2 separate regions of the Homo sapiens genome follow, and region 2 is linked to region 1. Evidence: promoter capture Hi-C in human tissues and cell types (Jung and others, 2019). All regions are on one chromosome and are shown on one strand. Each heading gives the region's core, a stretch centred on a gene start or on the middle of the fragment in contact. The rest is flanking DNA. Distances are from core to core; before and after follow the strand shown.

What was found. Contacts are between HindIII fragments. The study calls those that stand out against the background at their distance.
Region 2: the fragment with the promoter of STIM1 here is called in contact with a fragment that was not itself captured in region 1 in 1 of the 25 tissues and cell types used here (liver).

The regions. Positions count from the first base shown.
Region 1 is chr11:4,177,083-4,181,695 of GRCh38, forward strand. No RefSeq gene overlaps it. Among named protein-coding and RNA genes, the nearest start is that of LINC02749, 7.8 kb to the right of the region's middle. RefSeq lists enhancers at 1,658-2,185, 2,186-2,712. The HindIII fragment of the contact is 3,553 bases long and covers 872-4,424 here.
Region 2 is chr11:3,853,352-3,857,964 of GRCh38, forward strand. It overlaps STIM1 (stromal interaction molecule 1), which reads left to right and starts at 2,313. Exons shown (of 13, transcript NM_001382567.1): 1 at 2,313-3,058. The coding sequence starts at 2,920. STIM1-AS1 (STIM1 antisense RNA 1) reads right to left here and starts at 2,227. Exons shown (of 2, transcript NR_183662.1): 1 at 2,006-2,227; 2 at 972-1,307. MIR4687 (microRNA 4687) reads left to right here and starts at 2,711; the gene lies at 2,711-2,790. RefSeq lists enhancers at 1,289-1,358, 1,568-2,513, 2,729-2,938, 3,089-3,168, 3,179-3,228 and silencers at 1,699-1,748, 2,229-2,288, 2,349-2,508. The HindIII fragment of the contact is 10,936 bases long and covers 1-4,613 here.

The sequences.
Region 1 (4,613 bases), core at 1,398-3,897:
TTTTAGATGGAGTCTCACTCCCGTTGCTCAGGCTGGAGTGCAGTGGCACAATCTTGGCTCACTGCAACCTCCACCTCTCAGGTTCAAGCGATTCTCCTTCCTCAGCCTCCTGAGTAGCTGGGATTACAGGTGTGTGCCACCATGCCTGGCTAACTTTGTATTTTTAATAGAGATGGGGTTTCACCATGTTGGCCAGGCTGGTCTTGAACTCCTGACCTCAGGTGATCCACCTGCCTCGGCTTCCCAAAGTGTTAGGATTACAGGTGTGAGCCACCGTGCCCGGCCAGTATAGTCATCTTAAGGACATCAATTATTTTGATTTAAGAACATAGGCTCTCTTTCCATTTGTTTGTGTCCTCTTTAATTTATTTCATCAGTGTTTTGTAGTTTTCCTTGTTTTTTGCCTCACGATTAAATTTATTCCTAGGTATTTTATTTTATTTTTAAAAGCTTGTTTTCTTTTTTAATTGGCATATAATAATAGTACATATTTATGGAATCCCAAGTTATGTTTTGATACATACAGTGTAGACTTTTTCTTCCACTAATTTTGGTTTTGGTTTTCTCTTGCTTTTCTCATTCCTTGAGGTGCATTGTTAGATTATTTGAATTCTTTCCACTTTTTTGATGTAGGCATTTATTGCTATAAACTACCATTTAGCACTGCTTTTGCTGTATCCCATAGATTTTGGTATGTTGTGTTTTGATTTTCATTTGTTTCAAGAAATTTTTTGATTTCCTTTTAAATTTCTTTTTTGATCCAATGGCCATTCAGGGACATGTTGTTTAATTTCCATATATTTGTGCAGTTTCCAACATTCCTCTTGTTATTAACTTCTGGTTTTATTTTATTGTGGTCTGAGAAGGTACTTCATATGATTTTGATATTTAAAAATTTGTGGAGACTTGTTTTGTGTGCTAACATATGGTTTATCCTGGAGCATGTTCCATATGCTGATGAGAAGAATGTGTGTTTTGTAGCTGTTGGATGAAATGTCCTGTAAATTTTTGTTAGGTATATTTGGTATAATGTGCAGTTTTAATTCAATGTTTCTTTGTTAATTTTCTGTCTAGATCAGGGGTGTCCAATTTCTTGGCTTCCCTAAGGCACATTGGAAAAAGAATTGTCTTGAGCCACACATAAAATACAGTAACACTAACGAATAGCTGATGAGCTTAAAATAAATTGCAAAAGCTCTCATTATGTTTTAAGAAAGTTTATGAATTTGTGTTGAGCTGCATTCAAAGCCATCCTGGGCTGCATGTGGCCTGCAGGCCATAGGTTGAACAAGCTTGGTCTAGATAATCTGTTTAATGCTGAGAGTGGGGTGTTGAAGTTCACAACTCTTATTGTACTGGAGTCTACTTCTTTCTTTACATCTAATAATATTTGCTTTATATATCTGGGTGCTCTGATGTTGGGTGCATATATGTTTAGAATTGTTATATTCTTTTGCCAAATTGATCCCTTTATCATTATATAATGATTGTCTTTATCTCTTTTTATTGTTTTTGACTTAAAGTCTGTCTTATCTCTTATATGTACAGCTATTCCTGCTTGCCTTTGGTTTTCATTTGCATGGACTTTTTTCATCCCTTTAGTTTAAATCTATATGTGTCTTTATACATAAGGTGAGTTTCTTTTAGGAAGCATATAGTTGGGTCATGTTTTTTAATTCATTTAGCCAGTCTTTGTCTTTTATTTGGAAAGTTTAATCTGTTTGTATTCAAGGTTATTATTGATACATGATTTTATTAAATAATTTCTGGTGGCTGCATTGGGCTTGGGAGGCCAGTCCCTAGGCACATAGTGCGTACGTATGTGTGGGTGTCAGCTGTGGTGGTAGAGGCAGGTTGGGTGGGCCTGATCTCAGGCCCTGGGAAAGTGTTTGGGTGCCAAAGGTGATGAACTGGGTTGGGTGATTCCCATACCCAAAGATGACATGCTTAGGCACTGGGAAGGAGGAGTGGAGCCAGGCCTGGCTCCTTAGGCCCCTTAGTAGTGTGTGTAGGCACTGGCTGTGTTAGGCAGAGGCAGGTGATCCCTAGGCTCCTGGTGGTATGTTGGGGTGGAGGTGTCACTGCCACCCTGCTACTGGGGAGCACAGGGTTGCTTTCAGTGGCAGCAGCAGTAGGCAGGGAGCTGGGGAGCATGCACTTTGCTTGTGCTTTGGCAGCAGTAGGCAGGGAGCTGGGGAGCATGCACTTTGCTTGTGCTTTGGCAGCAGTAGGCAGGGAGCTGGGGAGCATGCACTTTGCTTGTGCTTTGGCAGCAGTAGGCAGGGAGCTGGGGAGCATGCACTTTGCTTGTGCTTTGGCAGTGGCAGTGGCTGTGGGGCAGGGGAGTCTGTCCTCAGGGCTTGTGAAATGCATAGTAACTGCTGCTGGGGGCACTGGAATCCGTGCCAATGGCTTCTGTTTTGACCCTGGGATCATCCAGCAGCTGCAGAGGCTGTAGGTTGGGTAGCCTTTCCTCAGGCCATATGAAATGTACTGTCACCCCTCTGTTGGGGGTGGGGGGTGGAGTTGCAAGCTGATGCTCTCAGTCAACCCCTTCCTCTGCTAACCATTGGTTTGCAGGCTGCATAATCCACTCTAACTTTGGGCAGGACTTCTAAGAGCTTCTAATCTGTAACTCCTTTTTGTACACCAACCCCAACCACCCAGCCTTGGGAAACTGAGTGTACAAGGCCTCAGCCTGGGTACACCGAAAGGAAGCAGAGAGGAGAAGCGAGTCAAGAAGCTTGAGATCTGACACAGGTTCTGGCAAGTGCCCTTGGGCCAGGGACTCTTATTTCCTCTTCCATAGAAGGTAGATGTTGGACTGGTGGCTTCTCATGGCCTTTCCCTTCCTGCATCAAACTTGTGATGTTTCTAGTGAATTTTGTATGATTGTAGTTTGGGAAGCTCTTTCATGTTCCCCAATTGACTTGATTTTTCGAACACTTGGGAGGTAGGTGGTACCAACCCACTTTACAGATGAGGGAACTGAGCTTTGGAGTGAGCAATCTCATAGCCAGTTGGTAACAGAACCAGGTCTGGAGTTGGCCCCCTGACTCCTATCTCCTGAGTTCACCCTGATTGCTGGGAGCTGGAGGAGCTTTTGGCACTGGGGGCAGATTGTTTTCTCCAAATGAGGCAGGCATGGGACCAGGACAAGCCAGGTCTCCTCTCCTCTTGCCCACCCTACTCACTCAGGCTAATACCTCCTATCCTGCTGTATCTAGTCTTAAAAATGGGTCTCTGTCCCCTCAGGGGGATCCTCTGGCCTCTCCAACCTTAGCTGCTCTTCTAGGAAAGTGGGCCAAAGAAAATTTCTGGTTTGGTTTGCATGTGTCCCCCAAAGTTCATGTATTGGCAACTTAATCTCCAATGAAACAATGTTGAGAGGTGGGACCTTTAAGAGGTGATTATGTAATGAATGGATTACTCTGCCCTCATGAATGGATTAATGCCATTATCACAGGAATGGATTCCTGATACAATGATGAGTTTGGTCCCCTTTCCCTTCCTCTCTCATGCTCTCTTGTCCCTCCACTTCTGCTGCAGGATGACACAGCAAGAAGGCCCTCACCAGATGCTGAGCAGATGCCGGCACCATGCCTGTGGACTTCCCAGCCTCCAGAACTGTGAGCCAAATAAATTTCTTTATACATTTCCCAGTCTCAGGTATTCTGTTAGCGGCACAAAACAGTAAATACCTTCCATGAGGCGGCAGGCAAGTAGGCCCCTGGCCCAGATGAGGAGGCTTCCTTTTCTCAGTGGGGTAGCTCTCAAATCTCCCATGCAGGGTGGGGGCGAATTCCTCCAGACAAGCTTCAGGGCCTTGGCCTTGCCTCAGTTAGGGGAAGGGGCCTGATTAGAGGTCTTTCAGTGAGAGGTGATGAGCGGAGCCAGGCTGGCCCCTGACCCCTGCCTGTAGCCAGGTTGCCTCCCTGCACCAGGCACCTTCTCCTCCTTAGCAGACTCACCTGGGGATCCATTCTTTAAGCCCCAAAGGAGAAAAGTCAGGGCCCTGAGGAAGAGGGGCACCAACTGCCTGATTCTGAAGAGTCTGCCCTGATCTGCCTGAGCCTGGGGTCTGACTTTGGGAAGTTTGGGCATCAGGTCCCTGTTATGAGTTGTGGCTGGAGGGCTTCAGCCTCCTCTAGTCTCCTTCAGTTGGCCCCACCTCTGGCAGGCCAGGGGCTACAGGGAAGGAAGAGCCCATTTAATCAGCTCCTGCCCTGGCCAGGTCCCTCATTTGGGGTGTTATATGCCATATCTTGTTTAAACCTCGCAACCCCTTGCAAGGTAGCGAATATCAAGCCCATGTTACAGATGAAGAAACTGAGGCTCAGAGAGGTCGTCCTTAGTCAAGGCTCAGTACTAGTAAGTGGCAGGTTTGGGACTTGAAATAAAGCGTGGTTCTGTTCCCTACACTTTTTTTTCCTGTAAGATGCTTGGCCTGGGCACAGGTGGGTGGTAGTCCCTTGACCCCTGCAGGACTGTGACATGGGAAGGGACACTCTATTCTGAGTCCATGGGGGCAGGGATCATCAGGTTGAATGAATGCGTGACTGAATTAAAGCACTTGCTGTGCTGTTTAATTTTAAGAGAGAAGGGGCCTTACT
Region 2 (4,613 bases), core at 1,063-3,562, 320 kb before region 1:
CAGATTTCCATCTTCTCTCTCTCTCTTTTTTTTTTTTTTTAATTGAGACAGGGTCTTGCTCTGTTGCCCAGGCTGGAGTGCAATGGTGTGATCATGGCTCACTGCAGCCTTGAGCTCCTGGATTTAAGCGATCATCCCCCCTCAGCCTGCTGAGTAGCTGGGACCACAGAAGCCAGATACCACTCATGGCTAATTAAAAAAATTTTTTTTGTAGAGATGGGGGTCCCACTGTGTTTCCCAGGCTGGTCTTGAACTCATGGGCTCAAGTAATCCTCCCACTTTGGCCTCCCAGAGTGCTGGGATTAGAGATATGAGTCACTGCACCCAGCCCCATCTTCTCTTAATGACACTCCAGCAATACTAGGCCCATCTTTCTGCCTGCTCTCCACAGTCCCCACCACTCCGTATTACTCCTACCTACTTTTCTTAATTGAATTACCTACCTGCCCATTTTGCCATTTGAATTTAAGACCCCTGGCTCAGAGAATAGGTCTAGGAGAACCTAGGTAGGGTTTCAACTGTTCTGGTCAATTTTCCAATATTCCGGTATTAGTTTTTAGTATCTGAGTGTTCAAGTGAATTAACTCATGTAATCCAGCTTTTACAGAGAACTTACTATGTGCAGGGTCTATGGCTGGGTCCTAGTGTCACAGAGATGAATAAGGCACAGTCTCTGACCTGAAAAGTGGCAATCACTATCTGTTGGGGGAGGGGCAGACAGATGTAATGGTCCAATTTTGGCCACAGACTGATTTTGAAGGGGTGGGCAGAGTAAAAGTTTCTAAGGAGACACATTGAGCTGTATCTGGAAGAGTAAGAGACCAGCTACATGAGGAACTGGGAGCAGGCGAGAGTGTTTCATGCAGAAGCAACAGCAGATACAAAGGCTGTGAGGTGGCTGAGTTTGACGTGGTTAGGAACTTAACGAAGGCTAGTGTGACAGGAGCTTAACAGAGCCGGGAGAGTGGTAGTAGGTTACATTAGCCATGTATTTTTATATCAACGGCCTAACCCTTAAGCCAGGCAGCTGTTGGGCAAATTCGTGTTCCCAGTCTTCAGGGGCCTTGCTCAGAACAGGTAGCTGGTTTAGCACTGTCAGTCAGAGGAGGGACTGGGCCTGATCCTTTCCCCTGCGTCTGGTGCCAAGGACAGGGTAGGGCACAGAGGTTTCAGTCAAGATCTGCTGACAGCACGCTTGAGAAGAGAACAGGAAGTGCAGGCTTTGTTGAAGGAGGCTCAGGCGTGGCTCTGTCTTCTTTGGCGCACTCATTCTCAAGTCGCTGACACCTCCTCCACCAGAGAGGTAGCTGGGAGAATGAGATGCAGGGAGGAAGCATTTACAGGCCCCACCGAAAAACCTTAAAGGGCTGAGAGCTTGAGGGCAGGTAGGAAAAAGGGCTGTGAGAGCTAAGGGAGGGCATCCCACTTAGCTTGGAGGGGAAGGGAGGCGGGGTCGGGAAAGCAGATGGCACCCTTTAGCCCAGACTCAAGGAATGTGTAGGGGAATTTTAGCTAGAGTGGTTTGGACATTTCATTTTGCTTTCTGGCATCATCATTTCCTCAGAAAACACTCGCAGGCCCCAGTGGCCCTCGTGGGCCTCCCCCGGGGCGGGTCTTAGCTTCACTCGGCAACCCTCTGCAAAAGAGCAGGCCCTCCCAGGAGCGCCGAGTCCTGTCTGCAGTTTGCTGATTTTCCCACCAGGGGCCGCTGCGCATGGGCGACGAAGCGCGCGGGTTCCCAAGCCGCAGAGAGGCGGAAGCCGATTGGTTGTCAGGCGAGGCGCGAGGGCGGAGCCTGGGAACTGGCCGGGAGTTGGGGGCTGGGAGCTCGCCCCCGGGCCGAGCCGGGTCAGGCTGTTGTCGCCTCAGGCAGCTCCTGGGAGGCTAACGTCGTGTCCTGGGCCTCTGTTTAGACAGCTCTAGAACTGAGGCGAGTGGAGCAGCACCAAGGCCCGGAGATCGGGGCAGGGCAGCTGCTGTCGCCGCCGCCGCAGGCCTGAGTTACCTGAGTAACTGCGGGTCAGGGACCCGCCCGACGGCCCGCGGTTGGCGCTGGAGACTCTCGGTGGGGAAAGGGAAGCTGGGACTTGATCCTTTGCGCGGGATCCTGGCAAAGACTAGCGCGGGCCGGGGGTCCGGGAGAGCCCGCTAGGGGCGGGGATTCCGGGGAGCCGTCTTCACCGGTTATTCCGGGATCCAGCTGGGCGCTGGGGCTGGCCCGGGCTTCGCTGGGGACCGGGCGGCGCGGGGCGGGCGCGGAGACGCACGCCCCCGCCCGCCCCGGGCCCGCCCCGCGCCGCCCGCCCGCCTGGAAGCCGCTGTCCTGGGCCTGGCCGGTGTGCGTCCGCCTGCTGGACCTGGGCACCGCCAGCCGCCTGGGCACGGGACTGGGCGGGGGCGCTGACCTCGGCCTAGGAGGCCCAGGATCCCGGAGACGCCCGCGCCCTCAGGACCCTGCGGGTCGCACGCCCTCCCCAGCTTCTGCTGCTCGCCGCTCTTCGGCAGGGCGAGGTCAGGTGCCCCCTTCTCGCCTCTCTTCTCTTCTCTTCTCTTCCTCCTCCACTTCTGTGCCCGCGGAGACTCCGGCCGCCCCCTTCCGCAGGGGTGTAGTAATCTGCGGAGCTGACAGCAGCCCCGCAGCCACCCTGCCCGAAGTCTCCGGAAGCGGCACGAGCTCAGGCCGCCGCAGCCCCGGCGGACCCACTGTTGGACCTGAGGAGCCAGCCCTCCTCCCGCACCCAAACTTGGAGCACTTGACCTTTGGCTGTTGGAGGGGGCAGGCTCGCGGGTGGCTGGACAGCTGCGGAGCCGCGAGGGCATCTTGCCTGGAGACCGTCGGCTGCACTCCCGGGCTCCTGGCTTTGCCTCTGGGATCCCGAGGTGTCCACATCAGACGCATGTTGACTGAGACCTAGAGTCATGGATGTATGCGTCCGTCTTGCCCTGTGGCTCCTCTGGGGACTCCTCCTGCACCAGGGCCAGAGCCTCAGCCATAGTCACAGTGAGAAGGCGACAGGAACCAGCTCGGGGGCCAACTCTGAGGAGTCCACTGCAGCAGGTAAGGCCTTGCTGCGGGCTGGACTGGGCTGGAGGCTTTGGCTCAGGACTGAGTGGCCCGAAGTGGGCAAGTTGAAATCTAGGTTTGTACATGTGAGGTTCATGGAGGATTCACACATGGCACTGCCTGTTCCAAGTAGTTCAAGAAGTTCTTTCTGGTCAGTAGTCATGGCAAATGCCTGTATCTTTCCTGAACAACTTTCCTCATCCCCCGCACTCAGGATTTTTTTTGTTGGCAGTAAGAAGAAGCCTTTGGGGCAACTTGACCTTTTAGATCAGCAAGGAAAGACCCCATCTTAGGCCTACTTGTCTGGAAGAATGGCCTGGTGAGATGATAAGTTCATTGCTCCTATTCGGTTTTAGTACTGAGCAGCATGGGGGAGGTTGGGGCCACTTATGTTGGAAAGGGAAAGTTAAGGCTGGGCCACCTCTGTTGCCTGAAAGCCTGGTGTTCAGGTGTGCCTATTCCAACAACCGTGGGAACCCTAGTCCCACCCTTCCCTTAGGTAGTCTTGTCTCTTTGCTGTGCGCATTTGAAATATCCAGGCGGTTTCTTAGATGGAATCCTATTTACAACTAGGGTGTTAAATGGCCTTTTCTTGACATAGACATGATATAATTCCTGGGACCACTTGTTGACTTATTCTGTTTCTTCTGACTGATGAGGGTGGGAATTCCATGCTACAGGTTTTTTTTTTTGTTTTTTTTTTTTTTTCCCTGAGTCTGCTTGCTAGGGAAACCATGCTACTTTTGATCTGTCATGGTTTTTCCTATGCAGTTGTGAAGGCTTATCAGGCAGCAGGAGCCCTGGTATACTTTTGCAGTAGAAAGGAACACTTTTATGTTTTGTTTTGTTTTTTTGAGACAGGGTCTTGATCTGTCGTCCAAGCTGGAATGCAGTAGTGTGATCACAGCTCACTACAGCCTCAAACTCCTGGGTTCAAGTGATCCTCCTGCCTCAGCCTCCCGGTAGCTGGGACTAAACACAAGAGCCACTGGGCCTGGCTAACTTTTTTTTTCTTTCTATTTTTAATTTTTTGAACAGACACTGTCTCTCTGTGTTGTGCAGGGATCCCTCCCAAAGTGCTGGGATTACAGGTGTGAGCCACTGTACCCATCAAGGAACTCTATTAAAATCCAGTCATTTTACATAAGGCTTACGAGATCAGTTCTCTTTTCCCATTTCTCTCACCCTTTGGCTGTGATCTGCCCAAAGCTGTGACCTGCAGTGTGGGGAGAGTTTATAGATGAGTTGTTTCTGAGCATAAGCAAGTTCAAATGAGGGAATGGCTCAGTGGGCACCTGCTGATACAAGTCAGAAAAGGAAATATAGGTCATGGTGGCTGGGGAGTTTCATGGATGGATCCAGAAGCTGGCTTTGGTGGTAGACCCTTTATTGGGCAATACCCTTTTAAGTTCCAGATGTTCCAAGAGGTCTGGTTTCCAAATGAGGCCAGGGTTGCCCATGTGTAAGTAGGATACCTGGCTGTTGCTTTCTAGATAGATCCTTTTTGCCTATTAATCCTGTCTCTCCATAGAGAGTCTCCTTGACCTTT